Linked DNA regions of Homo sapiens: region 1 is linked to region 2. Evidence: promoter capture Hi-C in 16 types of primary human blood cells and fetal thymus (Javierre and others, 2016). All regions are on one chromosome and are shown on one strand. Each heading gives the region's core, a stretch centred on a gene start or on the middle of the fragment in contact. The rest is flanking DNA. Distances are from core to core; before and after follow the strand shown. Region 1 overlaps SPECC1 (sperm antigen with calponin homology and coiled-coil domains 1). Region 2 holds the start of SPECC1 (sperm antigen with calponin homology and coiled-coil domains 1).

Region 1 (7,222 bases), core at 3,828-6,327, 280 kb after region 2:
TTCTCCTGCCTCAGCCTCCCGAGTAGCTGGGATTGCAGGCATGCGCCACCATGCCCGGCTAATTTTGTATTTTTAGTAGAGAAAGGGTTTCTCCATGTTGGTCAGGCTGATCTTGAACTCCCGACCTCAGGTGATCCGCCTGCCTTGGCCTCCCAAAGTGTTGGGATTACAGGTATGAGCCACCGCGCCCAGCCTTGAAGGTTACTTTTCTAGTATAAACTAAACTTGATCTTGGAACAAAATTCCTTATAATCAATTTTTCAGTTATTGCATATTATTTTCTTAGTACAATTCTAATTCTGCTGACTACAGAGTCAGAAAGGGTTTAAAAACCATGGTGACAGGTGGTCTCCCAGCCAGAGCTGTGGTTTTGGAAGACATGAGGAAGACCACAACTCCTGAACTAGGATGGGGGTTGGGATATGGAGAGGAGAAGGTGGACAGATGGATGCAGAAGCAGAGTGGCTGACACACGCTGCAACACAGATGGGTCTGAGGATGCTTCAGTGAGTGAAATCAGCCCATCACCAAAGGGCACGTGCTGTGTGGTGGAGGAACATAGTCGCATGTGTGTTGTTGGGAGGTGGAGTTTAAGGTGGAAGAACCTCTTTGAGGGCAATTTGGCAGAATCCATCAAAATGGATTCCACCTGTGTGCAGAGAGGTGCATGGGAGGACAATTATCGCAGTACTGTTTGTGATAACAGAAAACTGGAAACAACCTAAACGGGCTGCTGTCTCCATCCATGTGATGGACCTGCATGTGTCGTCAGAGAACAAAGTAGCGAATGGTGATGGAAGTAAAGCTAGCAGTGACAAAATATTTACCACGTGACCGACATTGTCTAAGTGCATCTAATCTTGACCACAATCTCATGAGTTAGGCATTTTGTATCCATTTTACAAATACAAAACTAAGGCAGCAAGAGGCTCCATGACTGCTCAGAGTCACACCCTAGTAAGGGATAGAGCTGGGACTGAACTCCTGCTGTTGGGCCCAGCATCCAGTCCCTTGGTCTCTACACTGAAACTGTTCATCCAGATGTCGTGAAGGACCTAGCTCTATATATCTTGGTAAGGGTGCAGAACATGCCACCATCTGCATAAAAGGGGGAAATACACATGCATGTTTGCATAAGTGCAAGACAGCACTGTCCTGTAGAACCCTCTGTGATGATGGGAATGTTCTATATCTGTGCTGGCCAATCCTGTAGCCACAGGTGGCTGCTGAGCACTTAAAAGATTCCTAATGTGACTGAGAAATGGAATTTTGATATTATTTAATTTTAACTAATTTAAACAGCCACATGGGGCTGGTGGCTGTCGTATGGGGCAATGCAAGGTAGAATATAGACAGATGGATGTTAAAGAAAAGATCACCGGATTTTGTGGTTTGCAATCCCTACTTTTAAAAAACCTTCTGCAGAAGCATCATTGGAAGAACGGGTTTCATAACTGTTTATTTCAGAACCACTAATTTAATCTAGCCACTTCATTTGAGAGATGAGGAAACTTAAGGCAGAAAAGTTGAGTCACTTTCCTAAAGTCATATTCAGCTGCGTTAGTGTGAGGAGGAAGGAGCGGGTCACAGTTTGGTTTGGTTTGTTCCTCTTTAGAGCATCGGACATTCTCGTTTGCCAGGGGCTTCATTCAATCTGATGTCAGCTCAGTTCTTAGCATGGCCGGTCGGTTCCTGGAAATGGCGGCTTTGGGTGAAACCATGTGCTGTAAGCCATGGGAACTCAACTCTGGCCCATGTCAATTAGCCTGCGGTGAAACTGGTTTTGTTATACAGCGTGTCACCATTTCACTTAATGTTACAGTGTCCAAGAACCTCCCAACATTAAGTGAGGACTTACTATAAAAGAAAGAAAGAACCAGACTTTTGTCTCCTGGGCTCCCAGAACTCCATGAGGAATCTTGCAGTGGCTCGCCCTTTCCTGAAGCCCCAGAGTTCATCCTGCCTCCTGCACACCCCAGGCTCAGGCTGTCCTGCCTGCCTGCACCACAGCATGGGTGAACCATGGTAGGACCATGCTTCCCTGCGGTGTACTCCTCAGCGCCTCACACATGGAGGGCTTTGGAAATGTTTGTGTGGACTCTACTCCCAGCCTCGAGGGCTGAACCGCTAGTGAGTTGTGCAGATGGCTCATGAGGAGATTTCTCCAACATTTCCTTGAGGGAGCTGCTGGACACAGGTAAACACTCAGCAAGGAGCAGAATGGGGCTTCAGGGGGCTGCTAGTCCACTGAGCCTGGGTGACTCCAGGAGGAGAGGAGCCAGCAGAGCTATGCATGACCATGACCTTTTTTAGAAGCAGCAAGCAAGGAGGAAGAGTGGAATTAATGAAAATGAGGTAGCCAACTTAACAGAAAGGCAGAAGAGGAAAGAAAATTCCAGGGAAGTGTTTCCCCAGAGGCCTGAGCATGGTCCTAGGGGTCAGAAGATGGCAGGGAATCATCTGGGATCCGAGGTGAGGGCACAGAGAAGACCTGTTCTCAGGACGCCAAGGAAGAACTGGGAGGCCCCTGCTGAGCCGCGGGGCTTCGCCTGCGTTCGGGTGCTGTGTGAGGCTAGCACTGCCAGTGGAACTGCTGTTGGGCTGGAGGAAGTGGACCCAGCCAGGGGGCAGGAGGTGTTGGCCGCAGGCCCATGCTTGCAAGGCAACCAGACCCTGTGTCACAATGCCAAAGCCAGTTAACCTCGGGGAAGAAACGCCGTGGGTGGGGACTTCTGAGTGTTTGTCAAGTGAAAATGGAGGAAGCAAGAAAGACAGGGCCCCAGCTGCTCCTGAGATGTGTATCTTCTGTGATTCTGTCTCCAGGGAGGGACTGTGCAGCATCTGCCTGAACATCTCTGGGACACAGCCGTCCTCTCGCCATAGGAAGGCTCTTGTCCACAGAGGAGTAAAGGGAAGGGCGCTGCTTCCTGCACCAGCTCACCGTGGCCGCTGTCTCCATTTTCGCAGTCTCAAACCCTCGGTGCTTTCAGTGTGGATAAAAGAGTGGGAGGAACATTTAAAAAGTGAATTATTCCAAATTAGTCTCTAAATTTAATGCAATTCCGATTAAAATCCCAACAGACTTTCTTTATTCTTGAACTTAACAAAGTAATTAAAAATTCACCTGGAAGAATAAGCAACTAAGAAGAGCCAAAAAAGTTTAGAGAAAGAGTGCTGATGAAAGTGGGTTGCCCTGCCTGACTGGAAAGGTGCAATGAAGCCACGGCAGAGGAGACCCCCTTCACACGTCATTCTGCCCACCGTAGCGTTGCAGAAGCAAAGACACAGTGGAAACAGCCATGAGCATGGCCCCTGCAGCTCATGTTTCAGAATAGTAATGACACTGACTTGAACGGGTTGAGGAGGTCTGCATTTTTTTAAATCTTAAAAGATAAGTAGAAGTTGTCAGATTTGATTTGGGAGATAATGAGCCATATAAAATCTAAAGTAGAAAAATAAATAATTGGCTGGGTGCGTGCAGTGGCTCACGCCTGTAATCCCAGCACTTTCAGAGGCTGAGGCAGGAGGATTGCTTGACCTCGGGAGTTCAAGACCAGCCTGGGCAACATAGTGAGACCCCATCTCTAAGAAAAGATGAAAAAAAAAATTAGCCAGGCATGGTGGCTTCCACCTGTAGTCCCAGCTACTCTGGAGGCTGAGGTGGGAGGATCACTTGAGCACAGGAGATTGAGGCTACAGTGAGCCCTGATCACACTATTGCACTCCAACCTGGGCAGCAGAGCCAGACCCTATCTTAGAAAAACAAACAAACAAAAAAGATTAAAGCAATAATATGAACAGGAGCAGAAATGGAAAGGCATTCCAAGGAATCCCAGAGTTATTCCATGAGGGACAAAAGGTAGCTTTCCGCTGCCAGAGATGTGACTTGCCCTTTGCAGCAAATATAAAAGAAGTCACTTCAGGCATTCTGATTGTCTGTAGCTGTAGAGCAAACCACCCCGAAACAGTGGATTACAATAACATCTTCATTAACCTTATGAATTAAATGTCTTTAATTTTTGCCAGTTTGATGAGTGAAAATGATATTTTACCGTTTTTATTTTCTGGTGAGACTGAACATCTTTTCATACATTTCAGACTATTTGTATTTCCTCTTCAGTACATTACAGGTTCATTTCTCTGCCAATTTTTACTTGAGTTGTTTGTCTTTTTCTTTGAGACAGAGTCTTGCTCTGTCACCCTGGCTGGAGTGTAGTGGCACGATCTTGGCTCACCTCAACCTCTGCCTCCTGAGCTCAAGCAGTCCTCCCACCTCAGCCTCCCAAGTAGCTGGGACTACAGCTGCATGCCACCACATTTGGCTAATTTTTGTATTTTTTTGGTAGAGATGAGGTTTCGCCATGTTTCCCAGACTGTTCTCAAACCCCTGGCCTCGAGCGATCCACTTGCCTCAACCTCTCAAAGTGCTAGGATTATAGGCATGAGCTACCATGTCTGTCCTCTTTCTTATTGATTACAGGAATATATTTTGAGTATTAGTCGTTTGCTATACATATATTGGTTTTAATTTTGTCATATAGAAACTTTCTTTAAGTCAGATTTCTTAATCCTTTCCTTTATACTTTTTGCATTTTGTGCCTTAGATGGCTTTCTTTCCCCAGGATTATAAGCCTATTCTTCTATATTTTTCTTTTTATAATGTTATAATTTTGGTTTTTAAGCTTAGCCATCTGGAACTCATCTCTAGGAAACAAGCGATGCGAGACTAATCCCTGGGAGAAGGGAAACTCCTGCAGTGATGGCCAGCTCACCAGCTCTCTGCCTGGGAACAATATCCACTTCCCAGTGCAGGGAGCTGGCCTCTGAGCAGAGCACAGCAGCCCCACTGGCTGAGGAGGCGGTGATCAGAGAGGGGCAGCCAAAGCTGCACATTTTATGGAATGGGGCATCAGAAAGGAGGATGCTGTGAAGATAGGGGGCCCAGGAGTCTATGTGCAGGTCTCCACAAGTCATGGCCAAGGGTTGTGCTGTCCGTGTGCAGGACGAGGCCACTCGAGGTTTACCAGATAGTCTGAGATCAGAACAGAGGTACTAAAACTGGATGTGTGTGTACACTTGTCCCAGGCAAGGACCGAACACTGAATGCACGGCAGGGAAGGAGCACAGGCTGCATTTGCTGAGATTTCACATGAAATGTTATGTGTGCATTTGCTTTGTATCCTCTCTGACCAGACCTTCAAAGTAAGTGTGATCCTCCCTGGGCTTTTATTGCACATGCTGAGCTCCAGTGAGGAATGAGCTGCTTTTATCCTCTGTGATCTGTAAACTGTTAAACTTTCCAAAAACTAAAAACTCAATCTGATTCCACAGCTGTGATAATAAAGACCAATTGGGAAAACCCCAGAGAGATTCAGGGAGTGAGACTGTTTAGATCACCATGAGCCTGAGACAGCTGGTTCCTGCAAGAATGAATGTACAGCATTTTCTAATCAGTCTCCTGCCTTTTTCCCAAGAAGCTTTGCTTTTTTCTTTTTGACTTTTGCAGTTAGTGTACACAGAGTCAGTTCATTCACAGACACCTCATGGAGGCACCTGGAGGTCCTTGGTGAAGGTAAAGAAGTACTGGGAATGCAGCCACGGAATCCAGCTGTGTCCTCGATTGAATTTAGCACAGTACACAATTCAGTGTGTACCCTGCAGCTTGTCCCCCCAGTGATTGATGTTTTTTACCAAATGTTAATAACCAAGGCAAGGCAAGTAACCAGGCAACCAAGGCAAGCGAAAGCATCTTCTAGAAGCAAATGCGCAGGCTGTGTGGTTTTGCTTTGCCCTGTCCTGCTGCGTTATTCATGAGTGCTGTCTCTACATTCCCCCGTCTGCAACTTTAGTACAACCTCAACACTCTGGGAAGATATTCTTGGATATGCACTAAAATTAGATTTTTACCTTCCCATGTGTAATTCAATGTCTTCATTTTTCTCAAATGACTTTTGCTTCATTGAGGTGGACAAAATTCTGTATCTTACTTTTTTTTTTTCCTAAACCCTCCTAGAGACCTATAACCAGTTTTGGAGATGGTTGGACTGTTACCCTTTTATTAAACATCTAAGACTTTCATCAAAAAGTTCCATATTCCACTCAGAAATATTGCTAAAGTATTTATATCCTGGGAAAAGTTAATTTGTAATTAGTAACTAGCATTTCCCTGGGTAAAAATAATCAGCAAGTTTCTTTCTGTTTTTGCTCCACTTTTTCCTCCCCAAAAATCTTGTACATAAATTCCAAATGTTAGTGTTCAGAGTGGACACCACACTCTAGCCCCTTAAGACAATCAGGGTCCTTCCCTCCTTGTTTCCTTCTTCCCTCCCCCTCCCTGTCCTCCCTCCTTCTCTCTCCCCTTCCCTCCCTCCCTTTCTTTCTTCCTTCCTTCCTTTTTTTTTTTTTGATAGGGTCTCGCTCTACCACCCAGGTTGGAGTGAAGTGATTTGATCATGGCTCACTGCAGCCCCAGTCTCCCCAGGCTCAAGTGATTCTCCTGCCTCAGCCTTCCCAGTAGCTGGGATTATAGGCATGCACTATCATGCCTGGCTAATTTTTACATTTTTTGTAGAGACAGGGTCCCGCCATGTTGCCCAGGCTAGTCTTGAGCTCTTGGGCTTAAGCACCTCCTGCCTCGGCCTCCCAAAGTGCTGGGATTTGTGAGCCATCGCACATGACCTCCTTTTTAATTGAGGTATAACATACACATGTGCATGGGGGATGCTCACGAGGTGACCCAGGTCTAGAAAGCACAGCATTCAGCCCCCCAGAATCCTCTTCATGTTCCCCTGGTTACCAGCTTCCACTCAAGGATAACAATGATCCTAGTCCGTTTTATTCAGGGATGAATATCAAGGAAAATACCAGAAGGTAACAGCCTACAGAATGCCTGCTGGGCTGCTTTTCATTTTCTTCTCATGGTTCTTTTGATGAACCTCTGAGTCTCAGATGAGTGGTCCTTGGGAAAAGACCTTACCATACTAACATCCCTGGGGTGGTCTGTGTTTCTTCTTAGTTTTGGCTGCTTCTGTGAGCATTGAGGACTGTCGCGCAGCAGCTCAGCCAGATTTCACCCCTCTCTACTTTAAGGCCTGTGCCAGCTCTAGTCATCCCCTCGCCAAAAATGAGACTTTTCACCTCCATCCAGGGGTAGGTCCTGGAGTGAGTTCTCAGCTTGCTCCCTGGGGTGCCTAGGACTTGCCCGGCCACCCATGTCCCACAA
Region 2 (7,216 bases), core at 3,104-5,603:
GGGAATAGGGTGCTTTACACATCTTAGAAGAACACTGAAATAACGTATTAGAACAAATGTTTTCAACTTCAGAAAAATTACCAGATAGAAAGAGGAATTGAGGCTGGGCATGGTGGCTCACGCCTGTAATCCCAGCACTTTGGGAGGCTGAGGCAGGTGGATCACTTGAGGTTAGGCGTTCAAGACCAGCCTGGCCAACATGGTGAAACCCTGTCTCTACTAAAAAGACAAAAATTAGCCAGGCATGGTGCCACGCGCCTGTAGTCCCAGCTACTTGGGAGGCTGAGGCAGGAGAATTGCTTGAACCCGTGAGGCAGAGGTTGCAGTAAGCTGAGATTGCAGTGAGACTCTGTCTCAAAAAAAAAAAAAAAATTAAATCTATAGAGTCAATCTATTGTGTCCCAGGAAATATTGGCCCAGAATAATAATTCCAAAATGTATAACAGTGAGATTTCTGGATTTCATAGACAAAGAGATAATTCTTGGAGCATCATGGCAATTACTTCACTTCTTTGTTTTTTTTTTGTTTTTTTGAGACGGAGTCTCACTCTGTCGCCCAGGCTGGAGTGCAGTGGCGCGATCTCAGCTCTCTGCAAGCTCCTCCTCCCAGGTTCACGCCATTCTCCTGCCTCAGCCTCCCGGGTAGCTGGGATTACAGGCGTCCACCACCATGCCCAGCTAACTTTTTGTACTTTTAGTAGAGCCGGGGTTTCACCATGTTAGCCAGGATGGTCTCAATCTCCTGACCTCGTGATCCACCTGTCTCGGCCTCCCAAAGTGTTGGGATTACAGGCATGAGCCACGGTGTCCGGCCGGCAATTACCTCATTTCTGAGGAAAAATAAACCAGGCTGACTTCTGGTTTCATTACAGCAACACTCAATTCTAGAAGACAATACTTATACATTCTTCAATAAATAAAGTATAACCCAAGAATTTATACTCAAACTTTTACAGGATAAAGGCAACAAATATTTTTAAACATGAAAAACTCAGGGAATATAATTTTCATAAGTTATTATTGTTATTTTAAAGAGATAGGTTCTCACTTTCTTGCCCAGACTGGGGTGCAGTGGCACAATCAGAGGTCACTGCAGCCTCAAACTTCTGGGCTCTAGCAATCCTCTTGCCTCAGCCTCCTGAGTAGCTGGGACTATAGGCACACGCCACTACGTCTGGCTAAATTTTAAAATTTTTTGTAGAGACAAGGTCTCACTATGTTGCTCAGGGTGGTCTTGAACTGCTGGCTTCAAGCGATCCTTCTACCTCTTGTCTCCCAAAGTGCTGGGATTACAAACGTGAGCCACCACACTCTGCTCTATAAATTATTCTTAAGAAACTAAAGCAGGATCATAACTTACCACAAAATGGGTTGGGGAAAAAACTATGGCAAAATAACTGTTAATAATACTTCTGAATCTTTTAACTGTAGGAGTGGAACTAAAACAAACGTGGGATTATGGTTACACAGCAGAATGTATGATTTTATAAACCTACTAACGTGGAAATGGTATAATTAACATCTTTTATATCTAGGAATCCAAATATCTCATTCAAAGCTGATTTAAAAATCAAGTGATAAAGATATTTATAAATGTAGTTAATTAAAAAAGCAAATACTAAAGAAGGATAAAATCATTTACATTAGGTGAGGAGAAGAAAAGGGGTAAAGAAAAAAGAGGGAAATTACAATGTCATTTTTATTCAGAATAGGGAGTTAACAGACAGTCTGAAGAAACTGAGGACGATGTGTATTGCGGAGTATGATTATAAGGCAACTCCCTGAATAAAAATACAAACCTTCCAAATTATCAGAAGAAACACAAAACACAATAAACACAAAATATGCAATGCAAGAGTGAAAAAAGGACCAAAAGGGCTATGAAACAGCATAATATAGCTGTCACATGAATAGGGCTCAACTCATCTATGGCAAGATAAAGATTTTCAGATTTAATCACAAAGCAAAACTTAGTGCTCTAATTCAAGGGATTACCTAAAATAAAGGGTTCAGAAAAGACGAAAACAGCAAAGGTTGTTTGGGGTAACAAACAAAATTCAGCAGGATGGTAAAATATCAGACAAAGTTAAATTCAGGGCAAAGTTTGAACACATTAAATGAGACAAGGAAGGTCATTTTATGATGAAGTGGGAAAATTCCCAAGAATATAAGACAAATGAATATTTATGCACAAATAACATGGTACTATTTATAAAGCAGGACTTCAGAGAAATAAGGAGAAATAAAAACACAATAGTAACAAAAGATTCTAATTTACCTTCTTCCGATTACGTTAGATCAAAATACGTCTAAAAAATAAAGGAGAAAAAATATTTTAAAAAGAAGAAGAAAAAAGCTCCAGTATAACCAAAAACATAAACCTAAGAGCTGATTCTTTGAAAAAAAAATACACTTTTAAAAGTTAACAAAATAAAGAAGCAAAAATACACAAAATAAGATATTTGGGAGAAGTTAAAAGATTCACAAAAGACTACTTTCCTCAACTTTATGCAAATACACTTGAACATCTGGAAAAAAAGGATAATTTGTTTTAAGAAATACATGCTTTATCAAAATTAACTCTAGAATAATTTTTAAAATGTAAATAATAAAATTGCCACAGAAGAAACTTTTCTAGCCTTAAAAGATTTACCCTCCCCAAAGAAAGCATCAGGCTGGGAGGAACATTTTTAACTGGGAAATGATCAAACCTCAAAGAATAGATAATTTTAATGCTCCTTAAATTGTTCAGAGTAAAAGGAAAAAGCAAACATGCCCATTTTTTTTTCTTTTTTTTTTTTTGTAGAGATGGGGGGGTCTCACTGTGTTTCCTAGACTGGTCTCGAACTTCTGGCCTCAAGCACTCCTCCTGCCTCGGTTCCAAATTTTTTATGATGTGAGCATAACATTGATTCTGAAACCAAACAACATTAGACATTCAAAAAGAAAATTATTGCCCATCTCATTTTTGCATATCAATGCAAAGCCTGTAAATAAAATATTAGCAAACAGAATCAAGCAGTATATTTAAAAAAAAAAGACAAGTTTATTGCAGGGATAAACTGGGTTTTTATTAGGAATTTATTATAACTAGGACTCATTACTTCAATATGAGGAAATCAGCTGTCACCCGGTTTGCTCGTCCTTACAGACATCTCCCTCCTCTTCCTCTCTTCCTTTCCAGTGAAAATGTCTTCAAGTTTCCTCTACCAAACCAAAACTTCACCCCACTTCTTTTATTCTTTCCTCCTCTCTTCTCAGAACAAAGGGGTTGTTGCTGACCAGCCCAGGGTTTCTTATTTGGGGCCGGATCATTCTTCCTTGTGGGGCAGTCCTGTCCTTCAGGTAGGATGTTGAGGAGCACCCTCGTGTCTACCCACTTAGGCAACAGTAGCAACTCCCGCATCATGACAACCAAAAATGTCTCCAGACCTCCCCAAATGTACGCGGGGCGGCGAGGAGGGGCAACACCGGCCCTGGTCGAGAACCGCTAGCCTAGGCTCGCCCCTCTACCTGGGCGCCACAACTTGCCAGGGTTGGTTATTCTCCCTGGATCCTTTCCTTCCTCCTCATTTGAGCTTCACGCCCTCAAGTATGACCAAAGGTTCTGTCATTCCACTCCTGCAGTTTTCATTAAGGTCTTAGGCCACTTCCATGTCAAGAAACACAGTGGCTCTTTCTAACCCCTGGCCATGAGGCACCCCTGGAGGAGGAGCCGTGAGGGTAGGGAAGATGCTGAGGGGGATGTTGACCTTGCCGACTTCCAGGCGCCTCCGCTGCATCCCGGAGGAGGCGTTGGGCGGTGAGGGTGCAGCGGGGGGGCGGGCCCCGCAGGATGAGGTGTCCGTGTGCGGCTAGCGCCACAGGCAAGACCGGGCTCCTTGCGGGGCGGAGGTGAGGCCGTGAGCATAGCTCTCAAACTGGAGGGCGCCTCAGAATCACTTGACGGGCTTGCGAGAATGTGGACTGCTGGGCCCCACCTTCATGGTTTTAGTGCAGGAAAAACCGAATAGGCTGGGTGGGACGGAGAATCTGCATTTTCTCAAGTTCCCAGATGAGGCTGAAGCTGCTGGTCCGGGCACCACCCTTAGAAAACCTCCAGTGTAGAGTGCGGAAATGGGGTCCACATCTGGCTTGGGACGCCCAAACATCGATTATGTGCGACCAGAGGATGAGCAGATAGGGAGATGAGACACTGAGAGCTGGGAGAGAGGGGGCCCCCGGCCGCCGGCTGAAGGAGGACGGCGCAGGCGGCGGTCCGGGTACTACATCTCCCAGCGAGCCCCGCGCGGCTCGCGCTCGCCCCCTGGCGGCGATGGCTGGAGGCGCCGGCGGAGCGCGGGTCCCTCTCCTGAGCATCAGTGAGCGCCCGGAGCCGTGGCCGCTGGGGGTTGCGGCGGCGCTGAGCCAGCGGGGCCGGTGAGTACTAGCCGCGCCGCCAGCCCGCCCGCCGGCCGGCTCTTTGCGCCTCAGCCGCGTGGTCTGAAGGGATGGGCGGGCGAGCGCGGGGGTCCGGCAGTCCGTCGTGGGGGCACGGGACTGCCTTTCTGGGAAGGCGTGCTGCGTCTTCGCCGCGGGGGCCCCGGTCCCCTCGTCGCGTGTCCTGTCCCCAGCCCAGGAGGGACGTCCTGGCCTGTCCTGCCCGGCCCGGAGCGGTGGGACCGGTGCCGCAGGTGGCAGCGGCAGGTGGCCGCCTCCTCCCCTCCGGGCCCGAGGGTTGTCGCAGGGACCCGGGACTGAGAGCCAGGTGGCTCCCGACAGCTGCGGCCCTGGAGGCGACCCCAGCCCTCGCCGCAGTGGGACAGGTGCGCGGGCACGCCCGGCCCCGGCTCCTGGGTCTCGGGAGCCTCCCGCACCCTCCCTGTTGTGCCTTGGGGGTGCTGCGTGGTGCAGAGGACCGAGAAGCCCTTCGCCCTCGGCGTCCGCCGCGCTCCCGCCCCTTCCTGGCCGGGGTGACAGGGGAAGGGCTAGGGCTGCGCATCCCGGGTCAGCTGGGGCGCCGCGGCGCAGTGCACCTGGAAGGCCCGGGGGCAGCGCGCGGTGCCCGTGGGTTTCCCGGTGGTGCGGACCTGCGGGCGTGCGGAAGTAACGACCTCCTTCCCCAGTGCCCATGCAAGGAAATTAGTGTTATGTGCTTGCTTTTTTTTTTTTTTTTTCCTAAGGAAGTTTGACTCTGAATATCTTATTTTGCTGGAGCTCCATTTGCCAGCACGTAAGTTTATGTAATAAGCGGCATACAGTTCGGAAAAAAATTTTCCTGTGAAAGTGCTCTTCCTTGCCCTCTGCAGGAAGAATTACGCCGAGCTGGTTGGCAGGCTTATCCACCAGCAACTGTAGGAGCTGCAGGCAGCAGATAAAGTGTTTTTTGAGTAAGGGCACAAGTCAGCCCTTCAGGACAATTTTTGTTTTTGGAAGATTCTGTTATCCAGTTCCAAACACCGTGTTATTTCAGTGTTGAAGATGGGGGAGGAGGGAGGAGCACAGGCTTGTCAATCCTAATACCTCAACAGAAATTAGCTTTGCAGGATTAACTCTCCAAGCAAGCGAGTTGAATTTGGTAGCCCAAACTACAGCTGAAGCTGAGCCTCCATACTAAAGCCTGTCTCAGTTTTAATAGTTTTTCGCTTGATTCGTTTGCCTCTTCCAAGTAGGTGATCTTATTGTCTGTTAAACAACAGATGTCTCTCATGTTTTTACTTTTTTCCTTGTCTTCCATAGATTACTCTCGCTGCAGTGTTGACTATTGAGGTTAAATAGGAATCTTTGTCTTGGGCTTGGTTTTAGGGAGCATTCCCTCTGTATCTTCACCGAGTGTATTCTATCACATTAAGTACATTTCTGTTTATGCCTAATTACTAAGAGTTTAAAAAGTCAAGGGTGGGTGTTGGGTTTTTTGCCCAAATGCTTTTGTGTAGCATGCATTGATATGATCATGTAGATTTTCGTCTTAAAATTGTTAACATAAGTGGTGGTCACATTGCTAGATTTTCTTTCTCTAAAACCCTGGGCTAATTTAAAATGCACTTTTGGATTGTTCACATCAATAAGCTAGCATCTTATTTAGGGTTTTGGTATCTGAGTTTGGCATATAGTTTACCCCATTTTTATCTGTGTTCATAACAAGGATCAGGCTGTCCTCTCTGATTAAATTGGGAAACTTTCCATCATTTTCTATGCTCTGGAATAGAAGAATTATCTGTTCCCTCAAGTTTGGCAGAACTTGACTGCAGACTGCCTGGGCTGCTGCTGGTGTTGTTTAGGCAGTTAATATCAGTATTTAATTACCTTTTCATTTTTTTCATGATCATTTATTTTTCTCAGTTTTTCTGTTTCTTCAAAGTAAATTTAATATTTTCTGTTTTCCTAGAAAATCATTAACATTATTGAAATTTAATATATGCTAGCATAATGTTGTATATAGTATTCTGGTGTAAGAAAACAGACTCTTACATATCTGTATGTATCTGTATGTTCTCTTTCTGATACAGTACTTTTTTTGGTACCTTTTCTCTTTTTTTTTGATCAGACTTGCTTAATGATTATTTTATTAATCCTTTCAAAGAACCAGCTTTTATTAACCAGGATTTATTGATTAATTCTATTGATTTTTTATTTTTCTATGACATTAATTTCTGTTTTTTATCTTTCTACTTAATTTGAGTTTATTTTGTTCAAGTTTTAACTGTTTGAATGGAAAACCTGGCTCATTTATTTAATCAGTCCTGTGAACAAGGCAAGGACTTCTAATTCTTTCATTCCACTTACCTCACATTTGGCCTTAATTGTATTTTTACTTCAACCCTTCCAACGAGACATTATTGCTATTGTTTTTGTTATTTTCTAGGTCAACATTTATTAGCTTTATCTACCTGTTTACCATTTCTTCACTTTCCATTCCTTCTTGTATCACAGATACTTTTCTTTGGAACATTTTTCTTCTCCCTCAAGTACATTCTTTAGAAATTACTTCAGCAATGATCAATTTTCTGTTTTTGTAATATCTGAAAATGCCTTTATTCTCCCTGTATTCTAGAATTTTGGTTTCACCATGTGTCTTCTATTGATTTCAGAGTTATTTTTGTATTTTTTTATATTTTTAAAAAGATGTTTTGTAGCTGGAAGGTTTTTAGGATCTCTATTCTGCCACAGTGCTGAAAGAAAAACAAAGATTAAGAACAGATTAATTTGCAGTCCACTGTCAGTCACGACTGTTCCC

Evidence for each region. The method cuts DNA at HindIII sites, captures the fragments that hold promoters and counts their contacts. A CHiCAGO score of 5 or more calls a contact.
Region 1: a contact is called between a fragment that was not itself captured here and the fragment with the promoter of SPECC1 in region 2, in 7 of 17 cell types (erythroblasts, M2 macrophages, monocytes and 4 more). The highest score is 7.8, in erythroblasts.

The regions. Positions count from the first base shown.
Region 1 is chr17:20,279,428-20,286,649 of GRCh38, forward strand. All of the region lies in intron 12 of SPECC1 (sperm antigen with calponin homology and coiled-coil domains 1), which reads left to right. Among named protein-coding and RNA genes, the nearest start is that of FAM106B, 130 kb to the right of the region's middle. RefSeq lists an enhancer at 2,096-2,596. The HindIII fragment of the contact is 795 bases long and covers 4,681-5,475 here.
Region 2 is chr17:20,005,006-20,012,221 of GRCh38, forward strand. SPECC1 (sperm antigen with calponin homology and coiled-coil domains 1) reads left to right here and starts at 4,354. Exons shown (of 15, transcript NM_001243439.2): 1 at 4,354-4,419. SPECC1-DT (SPECC1 divergent transcript) reads right to left here and starts at 4,255. Exons shown (of 1, transcript NR_186461.1): 1 at 3,050-4,255. RefSeq lists an enhancer at 3,156-3,723 and silencers at 4,156-4,825, 4,846-5,025. The HindIII fragment of the contact is 26,343 bases long and covers 1-7,216 here.